Linked DNA regions of Homo sapiens: all the other regions are linked to region 2. Evidence: promoter capture Hi-C in 16 types of primary human blood cells and fetal thymus (Javierre and others, 2016). All regions are on one chromosome and are shown on one strand. The core of a region is centred on a gene start or on the middle of the fragment in contact, and the rest is flanking DNA. Distances in the headings are between cores, read along the strand shown.

Region 1 (2,700 bases), core at 79-2,578, 490 kb before region 2:
AGCATTCAGGTAAAAAATACAACTTACCTGGTCTGAAGTTCAAATGCTTCAATATCAAATGGAAAAAAATTCAGAACAGCAATTCTTCCAAAATTCTAAGGTTTTATATATAAAGGACCAGAAGAAATCTAACCGAGATCCTCAACTGAAACTATCAGGTAAAATGTATACATCATCTGTTTATGTGCGGAATGTCAGTATAACCTCAGAGAACTATGAAGAAGGTACCCTTGGGGAACCAGATATTAGTTTGCCTCACTGCCAAATTTTCAAGTGAGTAAAAACTAGAAATAAGTGATATGACAAAGAAAGTACTACCAGTTGAAGGATATCTAGCTTCCCACACTTGTGTAATTTAAGCCAATAAACAAATGGACAAAGTAGGAAGCAGAAGTAGGATGCAGACTTTTGGAAAACATAAATAAGTTTTATCAAAGTCTGTATCTAAGATCATTTAGATCAAAAATTTCTTTCTTTTTTTTTTTTTTAAAGGGATAGGATCCTGCTATGTTGCCCAGGCTGGACTCCTGGCCTTAAGTGATTCTCCTGCCTCAGCCTCCCAAGTAGCTGGGACTACAAGTGCATGCTACCATGGCTGGCTAATTAAAAAAAAAAAAAAAAGTTAGCGGTGTTTTGCTATGTTGCCCAGGCTGGTCTCAAACCTGGGATTACAGGTGTGAGCCACCACAACTGGCCTGAAATTTCTTAAATATAATTGTCATAAGACTGACATAATCACCCACCAGGGATAGAGTGGTAATTTAGAAATAGGAAATGAAGAAAGGGCATACAAAAAAACATTTGCTGAAAGTAATAGGGTGGAACGTGGCAAATCAGTGCTTGGGAGCTTTTAACATAAGGCTAAGCAAAAGAAAATACACAGCCAGGCACGGTGGCTCATGCCTGTAATCTCAGCACTTTGGGAGGCCAAGGCAGGTGGATCACTTGAGGTCAGGAGTTCGAGACCAGCCTGGCCAACACGGTGAAAACTCGTCTCTACTAAAAACATAAAATTAGCCAGGTGTGGTGGTGGGCACCTGTAATCCCAGCTACCTGGGAGGCTGAGGCAGGAGAACTGCTTGCATCCTGGAGGTGGAGGTTACAGTGAGTCGAGATCATGCCATTGCACTCCAGCCTGGGTGACAGAGCGAGACTCTGTCTCAAATAAATAAATAAAAACAAAATACAGTGAAATCTCATTGTTTGAGGATTATCCTAAGCTTCAAATAGGTCAATGACCATTTCTTCATTTTTTTTTTTTTTCTTCTTGTAGTTCCTAAGTAAAGCCATTCCCTCAGGCCTCAGTCCCTTCTTTAGAAAATCTCTGTCTGGTGAGAATCCCTTCTACAGAGATGACAACTAAATCTACTTCTAACTTCAACCTTACCTTTCCTTTGCCTGATGGGCAATTTCATCTAGGTTTTACTTCCTTATCTAAAGCTTAGTAAATTCAAAGTCAAGTTCATCTTTTCTCCCCAAAATCTGTTCTTTCTCTTTCTTTCTGTGTGTGTTTTAAGGACACCACTATTTTTACAAGTTTACAGACTCAAAAATCCTACTTAGAGATAGCACTGACTCCTTCTTCTTCTCCTCTGACCTTCACAGCCAATCAGCAACGAAGCCATAATTCATGTACTTTCATTTTATTTCTGGCTTAAGTTCCCTCTTTATTTTCACTGTTAGGATCCTTATTGCTTCTCATCTAAACCATCAATAGATTCCTAATTAATGTCTTGCCTCTTCATCCCTTCAATTCATCTATCTAGGCCCCTTCTGTCTCATAATACTAACCATAGTCTGCCTATTTATCTTTTCAAGCATTCTCTCTTGCAAGTGATTATAAGCTCTCTGAGAATGGAGAATTAGTCTTTGCCATTTTTATACTACCTGTTTCCTGTTTTCAAGTAGCCCCGTCCCCTTGCTTTGCCAGCAGAATGTGATATAAAACAGACATTTTTATTAATAATTTTAAAAGTTGCATTAGTGAACTGTATGAATTATTTACATGGCCAGAAAGGAAGTAGACAAACATTGATTAAGCAAAGACAAAATAATCTGTTACGGGAAAAATATTCTGGAAAAGTAAGAGGGGTGATCCTTTGTGCTGAAAAGTCTCATTTCCAGTATTACTTAAATTAAAATTGTATTATTTTTATATTAGGAAAAGAAAAAATCAAACTTGGTTAAGTTGGCAAGGCTGATTTTTATAATGAGTAATTATTTCATGAATAGACCACAAAACAGAAGAAATTTAAATCAAAATTCATGTCTGTTAAGAGATTAGATACACATATGGATAGATATATGTATAAATCACATAAGAGCTAACTAGGGAAGAAGTCAGGTGTGGAATTATAATAATCTAGCCTGGAAGATAAAACCTCTAATTATTCAATAGAGAGATAAAAGGGGACAAAGATTTAAGAAAAGTAAAGTGCTGGGGTACTCTAAATTTAGATCGAAGTTTTTATTAAAATTGAGTGATACACACAAAACCCAGCCAGAAGTTTCCTAAAGAACTGGCATAAAAAATATTATTTAAGTGGTATTGGGAAGAAATAGGATAATTTAGGAATCAGACTTAGTATCAGTTGTGTCCTAAACATAGAAGTCTCATGTGCTGTAATAGACAAAAAGACAAAAAAAAGTCTATACTGGAGATAGAAAAGAAAACCTAACACACCTTAGCTACAAAACCAC
Region 2 (2,700 bases), core at 190-2,689:
CAGTGGCGCGATATCGGCTCACTGCAACCTCTGCGTCCAGGGTTCAAGCGATTCTCCTGCCTCAGCCTCAGGAATAGCTTGGACTTCAGGTACGCGCCACCACACCGGGCTAATTTTTTATATTTTAGTAGAGACGGGGTTTCACCATGTTGGCCAGGATGGTCTCGATCTCTTGACTCGTCATCCGCCCCCCTCGGCCTCCCAAAGTGCTGGGATTACAGGCGCGAGCCACAGCGCCCGGCCCACGTTTTCTTTATATGCATTTTGCTAAGAAAAGGCATTCATGAGTTTCTTCCGGGGTTGAGAACTGAAACAGGTTAAGAACCACAATCCTTTATTCCTGTACACACATTCTTTCTGGTTCGAGGTTGGGCCTTTACAGGGTACTTTTGGAGGGTGAAACATTTCCATCCTGTCAAGTACCTGGTAGCTATGGATGGGGGGTCTAAGAGGAGGAATCCCTTAGCTCACCCCTAAGCAAGTCAGATTTATCACAGCACAGGTCTCAAGCCCCATATAAGCAGGCTTAGGGGACTCCTTGGAGAGGAAGCTGCTTGTAGGGACAAGGGCCGTCAGGAGAGCTTGAGCTTATCAAGCCACTAACCAGCTGTGTGACCTTGGACAAGTTCCAGACCCTCTCTGGGCTCCTGAACCCATTCCTTACCAAGCCATTAACCAGCTGTGTGACCTTGGACAAGTTCCATACCCTCTCTGGGCTTCAGTTTCCACATCTACACATTGGCAGTGGAGCCACATGGCCTTACGGATCCCTCCCAGCCGAAAGCAGGGTACCAAGCCGACCTAGCCATTAAAGCAGCTTCCTGTGGGCGCGGCGCAGGACTTCAACAGTCCCCCCTCCCCCGCTCAGGCCCGCGAAAACCTCGCGCAACACGCCCCTCGGAGCGACGGCGCTTACCCAACCGCAGCCCCAGCGCTCGAACCCAGCTCCGCCTCTTCCCGGGGGCGTCCCATCGTGCCCCGCGCCGGGCTCCTAGGGTTGCCGGGCACCTCCCGCCTTCCCGCGCCCCGACCCCGAACTCCTCTCCTTAGTTCTCCCGGGCACCCTATCCTATCAACGCCTACTATCCCAGCCAATCGCGCAGGATCCGAGTCGTGCCTCCGGTCCACCCTCCTCCCAGCGCTCAGCCGGTCTGAGCTCAAGGCCTTTACCAAGCCCACCCAATCAACGGCGGGCTCTCTCCTACCCCATCCCAATCTCCCTCCCCTCGGCCAATCCGCGCGCTCCATTCCGCTGCCCGCCCAGCCAACCCGGGCCTTGAAACCAGCAGGCGAATGGGCGCGAGACGGCCCTTCGACGCTGAGCGCCTGGCCAGTTAGGGATTCCGCGTGGCCAGGACAACGGCCAATCGTCGTGGAGCGCGGCGCCTCCGCGGAGAGGTCCGGTCCGAATATCCCTCCGCCTTCCTCCCTCCCTCGCTCCCTCCCTGCGCGCCGCCTCTCACTCACAGCCTCCCTTCCTTCTTTCTCCCTCCGCCTCCCGAGCACCAGCGCGCTCTGAGCTGCCCCCAGGGTCCCTCCCCCGCCGCCAGCAGCCCATTTGGAGGGAGGAAGTAAGGGAAGAGGAGAGGAAGGGGAGCCGGACCGACTACCCAGACAGAGCCGGTGAATGGGTTTGTGGTGACCCCCGCCCCCCACCCCACCCTCCCTTCCCACCCGACCCCCAACCCCCATCCCCAGTTCGAGCCGCCGCCCGAAAGGCCGGGCCGTCGTCTTAGGAGGAGTCGCCGCCGCCGCCACCTCCGCCATGGAGCTGATCACCATTCTCGAGAAGACCGTGTCTCCCGGTAGGACGCAGGAGCCGGGGGTAGGGCTGAGGTGATTGGGGTGGGGGAGGGGAGGCCCGGCCCCTCTGACCCCGCTCCGTCTCCCACTTTCCTCCCCCTAGATCGGCTGGAGCTGGAAGCGGCGCAGAAGTTCCTGGAGCGTGCGGCCGTGGAGAACCTGGTGCGTGCTACCCCGCCGCGCCCATCCCGCCGCGTCCCCATCCCCTGCGTGCGGGGCCTTCCCGCCCTCCCGGAGGCCCAGGCCTCGGGAACCTACCCCGCCCCATCCCGTCCCCCTCCCCCCTCCCCCTCCCCCCCCAACCCGGTCCAACCTAACCCCGCCATCGGGAAGCCGGTGGGTGTGTCCCGCCCCGGGCCTCGCGACTGGCCAATGGCTTGGCGCGCCGAGCTGCCTGCCGCCCAATCGTTGCGCGGCCTGAGGGCGGCGGTGCAGCGGGAGGGAGAAAGAGGGAGGGAAGGGAAGTTAGGTTGCGCGGCGCTGCGTGTTCAGCAGGGGTGGGGGCGGGGGAGTCGGGCCTAGGGGCCATGTGGAAGCTCCGGGCCCGGCCGCCCGCCCTGTCTGACCCCGGCCGGCTTCTCCTTCCTATCCCGTGGCCCCTGTGGCTCTCCCCACCTATTTCCTAGAGCTCTGCCCTTTCCTAGCTACCTTGGTCTGTACTCATGGCCAGGCCTGGCACCCGACTGCCTCTTAACCCATTTCCACTGATATTTTTCCCTCTTTGCTCGGTTATTCCTCTCTTGGGGTTTTTTCTTTTTCTTTCTTTCTTTTTTTTTTTTCTTCTGACCTGGATGAATAGAGACCTAATCACTAGGGATCTGCACCCAGAAAACAGACTGAGGCTCATCTTTGAGATGGGGCCTGTTTGCTGATGAAATCACAGGGGAAAGTTCCTCG
Region 3 (2,700 bases), core at 76-2,575, 410 kb before region 2:
AGAAGATCAAATAATTTAAAATGTGTAAAGCACTTAAAACAGTGTCTGCAATATAGTAAGGACTCAATACACATTAGCTCTGTAGGGGAGGAGGGTATCTTAAGCAATGGGAATAACCTTAGCAAAAGAAGGAAAATGAAAGAACCATTATTCTTTTAGAAAACTCAAAAATAATAGAAATGGCTGGGTGTGGTGGCTCACATCTGATATCCCAGCACTTTGGGAGATCAGGGTGGGAGGATCACATGAGCCCAGGACTTCAAGACCAGCCTGGGCAACACAGTGAGACCCTATCTCTACAAAAAGTGAAGAAAAAAAAAAAGCCAATGTGGTGGTGTGTGTCTCTGGTCCCTGCTACTCCAATGGCTGAGGTGGGGGGATCACTTGAGCCTGGAAGGTCAGTGGTGCAGTGAGACTTGATTGTGCCTCTGCACTCCAGCCTGGGCAACAGAGTGAGATCCTGCACCCGACCAAAAAAAAAAAAGAAAGAAAGAAAGAAGAATAAAAAATGCCTAGAAGACAAATGGAGAGAGAAATACTGCTCATAATAGTAAGAGCACCTCCCTCTTCTGCATACTTCCCCTGTGCTTATGCTGTTTCAAGTGCTTTGTGTACATTATTCATTTACCCTTCCCAGAGATTCCTCATGAGGTAGGTGTGGTTATCCCCATTCTACAGATGAGAAAACTGAGGCTTCTGGAGGTTAAGTAACTCTCACCAGGGCACTCAGTGAGTGGGTGGAAGCTTCAGGAATCAGGCCCACATCAGCTCGCTGCCTGTGTTCTTAGCGCCATGCCTTATTGCCCTTTGCTTTCCTTGGCCCCACCCCAATTTTCTCTACCCAATGCCGTGAAGTAGGAAACAAAAACTACCTGGTTGTCCCTCACCACCAGTCAAACTTTTCACCTTGTCAAGTCACTTTCTCCTCCTGGGCTTCAGTTTCCTTTTGCAGTATAGGAGACAAAGGTGCTCTGGGATCCCTTCCAGCTCTTTTTCTCCCCTCTTCTCCAGCTTTGGTTACTCAGCCATCATGTACCATTTTGGCCACCAAATAACATGACACTAGGAATACTCAAAGAAGTGTAGAGCAAAGCATTCAGGCCTTGGTACAAACCTGCTAGCAGGTAAATAAATAAATAAATAAATAAATAAATCCGACCAACACTTAACAAAATTAGGGCAGAAATACTGAAATGATTTAGAGTACAGAAATGATCAGAGACTAGAGGTGAGTTAGGGACACTTCCCAGGGATTAAGAGCCAAAGAGACCTTAAATTAAAGGAAATGAGGAATGCTGCTTGCGGCTCCAGTTGGGAAGGTGGAATGAGGGGATGTGTCCTGGTGACCCTGTCCCCTGGTCCTTTCTTTGTGGCATCTGGTTGCAATGAGTCTTGTGGGTTGTGGGAGAAGAGATGGAGTGGGTAGGGAGTAGCAGGAGAGACAGTAAGTCACTTGTGTCATGTGATTTGTAACTCAGGTATACCTATTACTAAATTTCTTTTTTCCGTGAATGGGACTCAGATTATTTGGACTTGGTAGTGTTATTGGATCTTTGGAGTGTTGCTTTTCTGGTGGGAAACGTCTGTGGCCAACAGCGCCTTTGCCCAAGTTTTGCTCAGGCCTACTGGGCTTGTTCCACCCACTCGGCCTGGCAGGCCATGCTCCGCTCACATTATCGGCCTGAATCCCATGCCTTCAAGGGAGACTGCAAGTCAGACATGGAGTGGTAAGGGGTGCATGAGTGAGCATGGGGTCTAGCCACTGTGCGCAGTTGGACATGCCGGCTGCTGCCACAGGGTGGGCAGCTCCAGGTGGTAACATGGGTGCCAGCTCTCTGTGAGGCTGCTGCTGGACTGGGTGCACAAATAGCTTCCCTGGCTGGCAGTGGGGAATGCAGTGGCACCCAGAAGCTTGGAGATGCCAGGAACTGCAGGGCCCCAAAGAGGGAGTCACAGCCCTGGCTTGGGGAGCTCCCAGGTCTGAGATTCCTAAAGGGCCACAGATTTTCTCTCCTCTTTGCCCCCAATGGGGCAAGCAAGCGGCATGTTTCAGCACTGTTTGTGTTACAGCTCTTTTAGCCTTGCCATTTGGCAGGTCCTAAGTTATTGCCCTGCAACCAGGAAGAATGAGTACATAGACAAGTGGAGGGTGAGCAAGATGAAGAGGAGCTTTATGGAGCAACAGAACAGCTCAGAGGAGACCTGTAGTGAGCGGCTCCTCTCCATAGCCAGGGTGTCCCAATAAGTGTTCAGCTCTCAGCAGAGAGGGTAGCTCCTCTCTGCAGCTGGTCATCTCCTCAGCTCTCAGCAGACAGGAGACCCTGGGGTGGGCAGCTCCTCTGGGGAGGGCAGCTCCTCTCTGCAGCTGGTCATCACCTCCCTGGCTGTCATGCTTTCCCTCCTCTGCTCAGTCTGGCTGAGTCCAGGGTTTTTATGGGCTTCATAAGGGAGGAAGTGCATGCTGATTTGTCCATAGGTGGCTATGGGCAGGGTTCAGAGAAAAGCACTTCAGGTTCCCTCTCTGGTCTTGGACTGGCAGCTGCCCCCCACCCTGCCACTCCCTTGAAAGTGGAGCTTCACTGGGGACCCTCCCTCTTCCACCCAGGAGCCTGTCTGCCTCCTGTCCACTTCATGGTGCCCAGGCTGTTCAGTCAGCAGGCCAGCTCCGGGCTGTCCTCAGCACTCCCCTCAGCCTCCTTC
Region 4 (2,700 bases), core at 7-2,506, 390 kb before region 2:
CGCGGTGGCTCATGCCTGTAATCCCAGCACTTTGGGAGGCCGAGGCGGGCGGATCACCTGAGGTCAGGAGTTCAAGACCAGCCTGACCAACATGGAGAAACCCTGTCTCTACTAAAAATACAAAATCAGCTGGGCATGGTGGCATGCGTCTGTAATCCCAGCTACTCGGGAGGCTGAGGCAGGAGAATCGCTTGAACCCAGGAGGCAGAGGTTGCAGTGAGCCGAGATTGTGCCATTGCACTCCAGCCTGAGCAACAAGAGCAAAACTCTGTCTCAAAAAACAGAACAAAACAAAACAAATATTGTTATTTCTCAAATAGGTTCATCCACATAGGATCATTGTCAGTCGTTAAAATTGCTGGTTCCCTTCTAATTCTATTCCCCTATAATGTTCATATTAATCAGGTGGTGTGTTCTGTTTAGACATTTCCCCTCGCATTTATGTTTATTTGTGTGTGTGTGTGTATTCCTTTACTTAAACCCATGATATATAGTACTTCCTTTTATATAGAAAAAAGCTCAGTGTGGAAAGAACAACGTATCTGGAATTAAGAAACCTACATTCGATTCACAGTTCTGCAGGCTTTTTCATCAGCTTGCTGGGTGACTTTGAACAAGTGACTTTACCTTTAGGCATCAGTCTCTTGGTGTCCCAGGGGCTGCAAAGTGGGACAGAGAAGATGAAGGGAAATACTTCAATTTGCTCCTGCCCCTTCCCCACCACCTTCAACTGGAACTCCTTTAACTAATTAACAATTTGGAGTTCATGTAAGGATTTCTTTGGGAAAAAAAGAAGATCCTGCTGTTAAAATCAAGCTTGAAAAACTTTGCACTAGAAGAGAGCTCCAGAAGTTTGGCAAAAGACATATTCAGTAGCCACTTAAAAAGTCCCTGTAGTCAACCCTACATCTCTTTGCTAATGGAAATTTTGGATAGAGAAACCTGGGTCTGTGAGATCCACTGATGGCTCCAGACCCCAACTTTAGCCATCGCACGTGTTGAACTCCAGGTTGAGCCTTTGCTGGAGCCGCCTGCAAGGAGCATGTTTGACCAATCCCCAGTGGAGGGGAGGGTGGTGTTTCCTTTCTGGGACTTCCACAAGTTGAGAACAGACCATGCTGCCCTGGGCAGTTCTTGAAGGCTGTGAGAGTGGGCCTGACAAAGTTTATTCCTTTTTTTTTTTCCATTCTCTTTTATTATTATTATTGTTTGAAATTGACAAATAAAAATTATGTATATTTATGATGTACAACATGATGTCTTGAAATATGTGCGCATTGTGGAATGGTTAAATGAAGTTAAATAACATATGCATTACCTCACATACATACTTCTGATTTATTTGTGGTGAGAACACTTAAAAATCTCCTCCCAGCAATTTTCAGGTAGATGACATACGGTTATTAACTATAGTCACCATGTTGTACAGTGGATCTCTTGAACTTATTCCTCTTGTCTAACTGAAAATTTATATCCCTTGACCAGCATCTCCTCATGCAAACCATACCCCAAAGCTCATTTCTGTGTTCCTGCTGAGTTTGCCATTCCAAGAGGTTTTGATGCTGAAGGTGCAGTTTGTGGAAAGCCCAGCAGACTCTGGGGAGCCTACATTTAAATAAATGCAAATGTCGACAGGGAGGCAGAACAGAGGACATTTCAAATTAGCTTTAATTTTCTTTTAGCTTATAAAAGTAATTAAGCTTATTATTTAAAAAAAGGCAGCTCAGAAATATAATGCAGAAAGTACCAGTACCAGTTCCTTGTAGTCTTGTCCTTAAAGATAACCACTGTTGATAGTTACTGCAGAGTTTTTTTCTATGTATTTGTCAACATATATAATTATTTATCATTATTGTTATTTCTCAAATAGGATAATCAATAATAGGATCATTGTCTTTTTTTTTTTTTTTTTTGAGATGGAGTCTCACTCTGTCGCCCAGGCTGGAGTGCAGTTGTGTGATCCCAGCTCACTGCAACCTCCGCCTCCTGGGTTCAAGCAATTCTCCTGCCTCAGATTCCCGAGTAGCTGGGATCACAGGCATTTGCCACCACGCCCAGCTAATTTTTGTGTTTTTGATAGAGACAGGGTTTGGCCATGTTGGCCAGGCTGGTTTTGAACTCCTAACCACAGGTGATCCACCCGCCTCGGCCTCCCAAAGTGCTGGGATTACACGCATAAGCCACCGCACCTGGCCCATTGTCTCTTAATAATATACTCTAGGCATCTTTTTATGTCAGTTTATGGCTTTCCATTATTTATCCCAAGAGCTATAATTCTAGCCATAAGGCATACTCTTTGTTATATGGATATATCAGAATTTACTTAACCAATTCCCTGTTGGCAGACATTGGGATCATTCCCAATTATTTGCTACTACAAATAAAGCTGCAGGGGATATCCTTATTCATTTATTATGCACCTTTGTTCAAGTGTTTCTACAGACTTAATTTCTTGAATGAAAGTTGGTGGGTCGAAGGGCATGCGTATTTTAAATTTAAATTTTAGTAGGTGTTGTCAATTTGTCCTCCCAAACGGTTGAACCAGTTTGCTTTCCTACCAAGACAGGCTGGCAGTAAGGACTGGTGTTAGCACCGCGGCCTGCTGTCCACACCCATAACACATGAGCTGGGGGAGGAAGGCTGCAGAACTGGACAGCAGGATGCCAAGGAGGTCACCAATAGGGCACCCCTGGGCTGAGC
Region 5 (2,700 bases), core at 168-2,667, 460 kb after region 2:
GGTTCCAGCAATTCTCATGCCTCAGTCTCCCGAGTAGCTGGGAGTACAGGCCTGTGCCACCATGCCCAGCTAATTTTTGTATTTTTAGTAGAGACGAAGTTTTGCCTTGTTGGCCAGGCTGTTCTTGAACTCCTGGCCTCAAGTGTTCTGCCCGCCTCAGCTTCCCAAAGTGTTGGATTACAGGCGTGAGCCACTGGGCCAGCCCAGTGTTTTTAAGGACAGTTACAACTGAAACTTTCTTTTTTTTTTTTTGAGACGGAGTCTCACTCTGTTGCCAGGATGGAGTGCAGTGGTGCGATCTCGGCTCACTGCAACCTCCACCTCCTGGGTTCAACTGATTCTCCTGCCTCAGTCTCCCGAGTAGCTGGGACTACAGGCACGCGCCACCATGCCCAGCTAATTTTTGTATTTTTAGTAAAGAAGGGGTTTCACCATGTTGGCCAGGATGGTCTCAATCTCTTGACCTCGTATTTCGCCCGCCTCGGCCTCCCAAAGTGCTGGGATTACAGACGTGAGCCACCGCACCCGGCCCATCTGGAGGTTTTTTGTTTTTTGTGTTTTTTTTTTTGACAACGGAGTCTTGCACTGTCGCCTGGGCTGGAGTGCAGTGGCGCGATCTCGGCTCACTGCAACCTCCGCCTCCCGGGTTCAAGTGATTCTCCTGCTTCAGTCTCCCAAGTAGGTGGGATTACAGGCGCCTGCCACCACGCCCGCTAATTTTTTTTATTTTTAGTAGAGACGGAGTTTCATTACGTTGGCCAGGCTGGTGTCTGGAGGTTTTTAAAAAGCCAGTTCATAGCTATTTGTTTCTGAGTGGTATTGGCCCCAAAGGAAAGAAGAATTTCTTCATGAAGGTAGTGCAGGGCCCTATACAAACTTCCTGAGACCAAGGGTATGATGATCATTTCGTTCCTAAATTATGGTCCTGAATTTGACAAACCTTTTTCAAGGCACAAAAGATGTATGAGCTCCACTGAGTGGATGACTGTGATTTCCTTGTCATCGTCTTTCCCGTTGTTAGTTTTGTTTAAAGACACTTCAGAATATTTAACTCTCTGCTCCTGTGCTGGCAGTTTATCCAATGCCTGCAAAGAGAAGAGAAAAAAAAAACTTAAGGAGGTTCATTGTTCACAGCAAATAGGTCTGCTCTTTTTGGTCTCAGACATTTGACTGATATCTGGAATGTTATATATGGGTTGTTATGGAATTGGAATTTCCCACCTTTCAGTTCAGGACCCCTTGGAGGTGGTGGCTGCATCAGATAAAAATCAGATTGTCAGCAAGAATACCATTTAAGATGGTACTGAAATCACAAAACCTTAGGTTTGCTCAATATTGTGTAGCCCAATTTTGTCATGGACCATGCAGCTTCGTTTCTGCATGCAGTGTTTGTCTGTGGAGATACTTCTGGTATATTGGAGAGAATTGAAAAAGTGGTTTGCTTTGCTAATTTCATGGTGTAAATGAGTTCCCCTTCTTTTGAAATGTTAGCCTTGTGTTAGCAAAACATAAAATAGAAGGAAACTCATTACACAGTGTTCTAATGGTAAGGCAGAACTAATAAGAGAATGTGTTTAAAATTAATTGTGGGACTGTAAAAATGAGTGGGTATGTGAATGAGTACGGGATGGGGGAGGAGAGGGAGGGCTTAGAGATATTAGAGATAGTCTTGTTTTCCCAGGAGCCAGCCTGGATCATTTGTTGGCAGTACATATTGGCTGAAGTCAGTTTTCATTTCAAGGTAAATTGGAAAGGGAAATTAAACCTTATTGTTTCTCTCTTAAGAGAGAAGGGGGTGCAGGCGGCAGCCAGGGTGGATGCTGTTGGAATAGTTGTAGAAGTAACAAGATTAGTGCTGTATTTTAACAGAAGGTGACATCATGGGCCCCATTGGACTTGAGTAACCCCGTGCTGCAGCCTTCATGGTCCCCTTGTCGGAGTGGGTGATGTCGCTATACACGTGAACTGCCACATTGGGGAAAATCAGGGGCTGAGGCTTTAATGAATCTTTACAAAGGAGCAGAACGCATCCTGAGTCGACCTGTGCAGCTGTGGGGTGCTTGGACAGAAGTACAAACCGGATGGCATGTCAGGAGAGGAAGTAATTAGAACAATTGGCTCGGGTTCCAGAGTATGGATTGGATAAGGGGAAGGTCCCAACTGGGCAACCCACTCAGGTGCTCCTTGGAGTGCTCTAGCTCTATGATTCACCTGTGGGGAGTTGACTGGTTGTTAGTGAGACTGGGAGAAATGCAGAAGCATTGGTGTTTGTGGGGACTTGGTTGTCTCTAAACAGCCGGGAGGGGGTGCTGTTAGGCTCGCTTTCAAAGCTGTGATCTGGCAGGGCGTGGTGGCTCCCGCCTGTAATCCCAGCACTTTGGGAGGCCGAGGAGGGCGGATCACTTGAGGTCAGGAGTTCGAGACCAGCCTGACCAACATGGAGAAACCCCGTCTCTACTAAAAATACAAAATTAGCTGGGTGTGGTGGCACGTGCCTGTAATCCCAGCTACTCGGGAGACTGAGGCAGGAGAATTGCTTGAACCCAGGAGGCAGAGGTTGTGGTGAGCCGAGATTGTGCCATTGCACTCCAGCCTGGGCAACAAGAGTGAAACTCTGCCTCAAAAAAAAAAAAAAAATGCTGTGATGTGAGTGCTCACCAGACCCTGTTGTGCCTGCATTCTTCAAGGCAAAAGTTTTAC
Region 6 (2,700 bases), core at 9-2,508, 470 kb before region 2:
TGAGGCTAGGAGTTTGAGTCCAGCTTAGCCAACATGGTGAAACTCCATCTCTACTAAAAATACAAAAATTAGGTGGGCGTGGCCGCAGGCGCTTATAATCCCAGCTACTCAGGAGGCTGATGCAGGAGAATTGCCTGAACCTGGGAGGCAGTCAGCCGAGATTGGGCCACTGCACTGCAGCCTGGGTGACAGAGGGAGACCCTATCTGAAACAAACAAACAAAAACATTTTGCAGTGTGGGATGTAAAACCCACATTAATTTAAGATAAAACAGTAGACCTTAAGCAATTTTGAACTCTGGGCTAGGACCCTCAAAATAACCTAGGAATACATGTTGACACAAGGTTTTCAGCTGTTTCTCTTTCTTTTCCTTTCACTAGTTACAATCCTCTTAGTCTCATAGAGTTCCATAGGTAGCAATTACTTATGAAAAAAATGCACACAAAACTTATGTCTGGTTGATTTTCTGAACATAACTCTTATTTTATATGTGTGTGTACACACACACACACACACACACATATCTCCAAAGAGCTATCATAGTAGTTGCATTAATGTATTTTTTTCCTCATAGTCTAACACTATTTCTATTTGTTGTATAGCACTTATTTCTATTCATTCTTAACAGTTAATTAACAAAAGAGAAAAACCTTGGTCAAGGGGATCAGGTATTGGTGGTGGGAAAGAAAAATACATGCTTACAATGGGGGAAGGGAATTTATTGGAGGGAGATGGTAAAATTAGGACAGTTTTTCCAAAACAGCAAATCTCAACTCACTAGTGGACTGTGATGTCAATTTAGTGGTTATCAGCCTACGTTAAAACAACAACAACAAAACCACTCAATGGAAAATATTAGAGTGTATCATATCTAATAAGGGTAAAAAAAATCTGGCCAGGCCACAGTGGCTCACGTCTGTAATCCCAGCACTTTGGGAGACGGAGGTGGGAGGACTGCTTGAGACCAGGAGTTTAAGACTGGCCTGGGCAACATTGTGAGATCTCGTGTTCTCAAAAATACAAAAATTAGCTGGGCATGGTAGCATGTGCCTGTAGTCTCATCTAGTAGGGAGGTTGAGGTGGGAGGATTGTTTGGGCCTGGGAGGTCAAGGCTGAAGTGAGAAAAGATCACATGACTGCACTCCAACCTGGGTGACAGGCTATCTCAAAAATAAATAAATAAATAAAAATAAGAAAAAAAAAAAAAAACCCTGAAAAGTCACTGTATTAGGATATGTTAGGGGAGAGGGAACCTGTAAAGGACTTTCTATGTGCCAGAAACTACAGCAGACTCTTTACATATTTTACTGTATTTAGTCCTTAAAACTATCTTGTTAAACAGATATTTCTCTTCTATTTTAAAGATAAGGAAAATAAGGCTCAGAATGACTTTTGGCTTAAGATCAAATGGCAAATGAGTATCTGAATTCAGATTCTCTTTCCTTTTTCCGTTTTTTTTTTGAGACGGAGTCTCGCTCTGTTGCCCAGGCTGGAGTGCAGTGGTGTAATCTCGGCTCACCGCAACCTCCGCCTCCCGGGTTCAAGCAATTCTCCTGCCTCAGCCTCCTGGGTGGCTGGGATTACAGGCATGTGCCACTACACCGGCTAATTTTGTATTTTTTAGTAGAGATGGGGTTTCTCCATGTTGGTCAGGCTGGTCTCAAATTCCCAACCTCAGGTGATCTGCCCACCTCAGCCTCCCAGATTCTCTCTTATATCATTCTGCTGTTCCTTCTTTCTGATCCCACAGTCTCAGGCCGACTATAAATCTCGAGAGAAAGACAAATGGGCGACAAAGAACTAGTGAAACTGAGAAATTATTTCAAGAATTTGACTTACAGAAGATCCTACTGATCAACTGCTTTAGCCTCATGCCTTGTTGGATGTCTTTCTCCAAATATAGAAACTGCTACTAGTGACATAGGAGGCCCCTGAGCAAACAGGTTACATCTAGCATATCAACTGATATTGTCCACCAAGAAAACTGTTGCCAAGAATTCTGAGGTTGGTTCAGTGGGAATGAGTACTGTAATGGATTAGTGATGCCTACTATGGTTGCAAATCAGAGAAGTGGTAATTGCTACTCTTGGGAAAGCGGAATCAGACAGATTACTAGTTACCGCCTGTGGACATTAGTCTCAGTTCTTCATCCAGAAAATGGCAATAGCAATGTCTATTTGATAGGATTATTGAAGATTAAATTAGTAACTAATATTAAATACTTAGAGTACCTAGTATACAGTAAGAAATCAATAAGTGATAGAATTATTGTTATTATTACTGAGCCAGGATAGTATCTGCTCTTACTACACTTAATTCTAAAATCTTTCCTCATATAAATATGGTTAAACCGAATGGTGAGGTTCTATATTGAAAGAAACTAACATTTACTGAGCAACTTTCCAAGTGCCAAGCATTGTATCAGGTACATAAATAACGTGGATTAAACAGCTTTATGTGGACTAATCTGGGAATCTTGCCACCAATTCTATGGGAAAATCTAATTGAATTCTAAACCATGAATTTACAATTTTTAAGAGCCTAACTATAATAAACTAGAAACTGCCTATTCTTTAATAATAAACAAAAACAAAAAGGAAATACTAGAAATAGAAGACAGTGGCCGAGTACAGTGGCTCACATCTGTAACTCCAGCTCTTTGGGAGGCTGAGGCAGGAGGATCACTTCAGTCCAGGAGTT
Region 7 (2,700 bases), core at 28-2,527, 450 kb before region 2:
GTCTCACTGTTGTCACCCAGGCTGGAGTGCAATGGTGCACTCTTGGCTCACTGCAAACTCTGCCTCCCGGGTTCAAGCAATTCTCCTGCCTCAGGCTCCTAAGTAAGTAGCTGGGATTACAGGTGCATGCCACCACAGTGGGCTAATTTTTTTTTTTTTTTTTGAGACGGGGTTTTGCTCTTGTTGCCCAGGCTGGAGTGCAATGGCATGATCTTGGCTCACCGCAACCTCTGCCTCCCAGGTTCAAGCGATTCTCCTGCCTCAGCCTCCCAAGTAGCTGGGATTACAGGCATAGACCACCATGCCCAGCTAATTTTGTATTTTTAGTAGAGACGGGGTGTCTCCATGTTGGTCAGGCTGGCCTCGAACTCCCGACTTCAGGTGATCTGCCCGCCTTGGCCTCCCAAAGTGTTGGAATTACAGGTGTGAGCCACCGTGCCCAGCCAAGTATTTTTAGTAGAGACTGGGTTTTACCATGTTGGCCAGGCTGGTCTCCAACTCCTGATCTCAGGTGATCCGCCTGCCATGGCCTCCCAAAATCACCCACTCTCTTGCCTCACAGGCTTTGCATGTACTGCACTCTCCCCAGAACCCTCTTAATTCCACTCTTCATCTTAATTCTATTCTTCATCTGGCTAGCTCTGCTTATCCTCCAAATATACTTCTTCCAGGCCTTTTCTGCTCCTCTGGGATAGCTTGGCTCTCCCTGCTGTTACTCTAGTGCTACCAGACTTGTCATTACTCCCATCACTCTTTGCTGTAATTAATTATCTGTTTAATTGTCTACTTCTGGTCTAGTCTATAAGCTCCATGAGGGCAGAAGCCCTGTCTGCCTTGTTCCCTGTGTATTCTCAACACTTAGTACAGTATCTGGCATCTAATGGGAACTTAGTATTATTTGTTTAATGAATGAATAGAATAAACTCACTGTGTTCCTAGTATTATTTTTGTTTGTTGATTGATGTTATAGACTGGTTGCATCTCCTCAAAATTCATATGTTGAAGCTAACCCCTAGTGTGGCTGTATTTGGACATGGGGTCTCTAAGAAAGTGATTAAAGTTAAATGATATCATAAAGATGGGGCCCTGATCCGACAGAATTAGTGTCCTTATAAAAAGATGCACAGGAAAGTTTGATCTCTCTGTGGGCATTCACCAAAGAAGGGTCATAGGAGGACACAGGGAAAAGGCCAACATCTAGGAAGAGAGCCCTCACCAGAATCTGTTTTGCCAGCACTTTGATCATGGACCTCTAGCCTCCAGAACCATGAGAAAATAAATCTCTAATGTTCAAGCCACCCGGTGTGTGGTATGTTGTTATGGCAAGCCCAGGTAGACTTATATAATTGATTATTCTGTTTATGTCTTGTCTCCCTAATGCAAGGGCCAAGTCTTATATTTCTGTATATTGTTCTTTGAAAAACACCACATATGTAGAAAATTCTTAAGAAATATATTGACTGAGTGATTAAAGTGGAAGTCTTTCTACATATTATTCTTTCTTCCTGAAATACATTTCCCTTACTCTTTGACCAGTGAAATTCTATTTATTCTTCAAGCCTCAGCTTCAGTATCACATCCTCAGAATATTCCTAGACCTACCTAATTTAAATTCTTAGCTCCAGCCTGTTATTCTCTCTCATGCCATTTTTGTTCTTTTCTTTCATAGTATGTATGGTAATTTTAATCGTATTTGTTTAATATAAGCTGCATTGAAGGCAGGGACCTTGGTTTGAACATTATGTCCCCATCACCTAGTTCAGTGCCCTGCACAAATATTATAAAATATATAAATATTTTTTGTTGTTGTTGTTTTGCTAAAATATTATAATATTTCGCTCTTGTTTCGTTAAAATATTGTAAATATATAAATATTTTTGAAATATCTGATGATTGAATGACTTGATGACTTAATTTCATCTCACTGATCTAAACATGATGCTTTTTTTTTGACTCCCCCTTTCTGGGCCCAGAGAACATGCTGGTCTTGCACATAAATCCTTAAAGGGTTTTTTTTTTTTTTTTTTTTTTTTGAGACAGAGTCTCGCACTGTCGCCCAGGCTGGAGTGCAGTGGCGCTATCTCGGCTCACTGCAAGCTCCACCTCCCGGGTTCATGTCATTCTCCTGCTTCAGCCTCCCGAGTAGCTGGGACTATAGGCGCCCGCCACCACGCCTGGCTAATTTTTTGTATTTTGAGTAGAGATAGGGTTTCACCGTGTTAGCCAGGATGGTCTCGATCTCCTGACTTCGTGATCTGCCAGCCTTGGCCTCCCAAAGTGCTGAGATTACAGGCATGAGCCACCGCACCCGGCCAAATCCTTAAGGGATTTAAAGTCAAGGCAGTATCTGAAGTATTGAGACTATTCAGAAAATGCATCTTGATTGAGATGAGCTCCGAGATGTGCTAAATGGCGTATGACTAGGGCGCCTAGGGCTGACTCAAAAGCACAGGGAAATAAACTACAGACAGCCCCCAAGTTATGATTTTTTGACTTTATGATGGTGTAGAAGCAATGTGCAGTCAGTAGAAACTGTACTTCAGATACCTATACAACCATTCTGTGTCTCACTTTCAGTACAGTATTCAATACATGAGATTCAGCACTTCATTATAAAATAGGATTTGTGTTAGATAGCTTTGCCCAACTGTAGGCTAAGGTGAGTGTTCTAAGCACGTTTAAGGTAGGCTTTGCTAAACT

The links. The method cuts DNA at HindIII sites, captures the fragments that hold promoters and counts their contacts. A CHiCAGO score of 5 or more calls a contact.
Region 1: a contact is called between a fragment that was not itself captured here and the fragment with the promoter of KPNB1 in region 2, in 6 of 17 cell types (erythroblasts, megakaryocytes, naive B cells and 3 more). The highest score is 19.0, in erythroblasts.
Region 3: a fragment that was not itself captured here is called in contact with the fragment with the promoter of KPNB1 in region 2 in 1 of 17 cell types (erythroblasts); the score reaches 5.4 in erythroblasts.
Region 4: a contact is called between a fragment that was not itself captured here and the fragment with the promoter of KPNB1 in region 2, in 1 of 17 cell types (erythroblasts). The highest score is 7.0, in erythroblasts.
Region 5: a fragment that was not itself captured here is called in contact with the fragment with the promoter of KPNB1 in region 2 in 1 of 17 cell types (neutrophils); the score reaches 5.1 in neutrophils.
Region 6: a fragment that was not itself captured here is called in contact with the fragment with the promoter of KPNB1 in region 2 in 5 of 17 cell types (erythroblasts, megakaryocytes, fetal thymus and 2 more); the score reaches 10.9 in erythroblasts.
Region 7: a fragment that was not itself captured here is called in contact with the fragment with the promoter of KPNB1 in region 2 in 3 of 17 cell types (erythroblasts, neutrophils and non-activated CD4 T cells); the score reaches 7.1 in erythroblasts.

Annotation. Positions count from the first base shown.
Region 1 is chr17:47,160,588-47,163,287 of GRCh38, forward strand. The region is part of intron 4 of CDC27 (cell division cycle 27); the gene reads right to left. Among named protein-coding and RNA genes, the nearest start is that of CDC27, 27 kb to the right of the region's middle. The HindIII fragment of the contact is 220 bases long and covers 1,219-1,438 here.
Region 2 is chr17:47,648,480-47,651,179 of GRCh38, forward strand. KPNB1 (karyopherin subunit beta 1) reads left to right here and starts at 1,440. Exons shown (of 22, transcript NM_002265.6): 1 at 1,440-1,805; 2 at 1,907-1,965. The coding sequence starts at 1,766. KPNB1-DT (KPNB1 divergent transcript) reads right to left here and starts at 949. Exons shown (of 4, transcript NR_171700.1): 1 at 917-949. RefSeq lists an enhancer at 1-440 and silencers at 841-1,110, 1,121-1,170, 1,181-1,360, 1,791-1,860, 1,971-2,110 and 1 more. The HindIII fragment of the contact is 6,441 bases long and covers 1-2,700 here.
Region 3 is chr17:47,234,982-47,237,681 of GRCh38, forward strand. No RefSeq gene overlaps it. Among named protein-coding and RNA genes, the nearest start is that of ITGB3, 17 kb to the right of the region's middle. RefSeq lists an enhancer at 2,319-2,700. The HindIII fragment of the contact is 1,167 bases long and covers 743-1,909 here.
Region 4 is chr17:47,259,625-47,262,324 of GRCh38, forward strand. The region is part of intron 1 of ITGB3 (integrin subunit beta 3); the gene reads left to right. Among named protein-coding and RNA genes, the nearest start is that of ITGB3, 7.1 kb to the left of the region's middle. The HindIII fragment of the contact is 884 bases long and covers 815-1,698 here.
Region 5 is chr17:48,109,027-48,111,726 of GRCh38, forward strand. The region is part of intron 1 of SNX11 (sorting nexin 11); the gene reads left to right. Among named protein-coding and RNA genes, the nearest start is that of SNX11, 2.6 kb to the left of the region's middle. RefSeq lists a silencer at 440-613. The HindIII fragment of the contact is 3,741 bases long and covers 1-2,700 here.
Region 6 is chr17:47,177,360-47,180,059 of GRCh38, forward strand. The region is part of intron 2 of CDC27 (cell division cycle 27); the gene reads right to left. Among named protein-coding and RNA genes, the nearest start is that of CDC27, 11 kb to the right of the region's middle. The HindIII fragment of the contact is 6,719 bases long and covers 1-2,700 here.
Region 7 is chr17:47,195,084-47,197,783 of GRCh38, forward strand. It overlaps a transcript of MYL4 not described here. Among named protein-coding and RNA genes, the nearest start is that of CDC27, 7.1 kb to the left of the region's middle. RefSeq lists a cis regulatory region at 2,687-2,700. The HindIII fragment of the contact is 3,103 bases long and covers 1-2,700 here.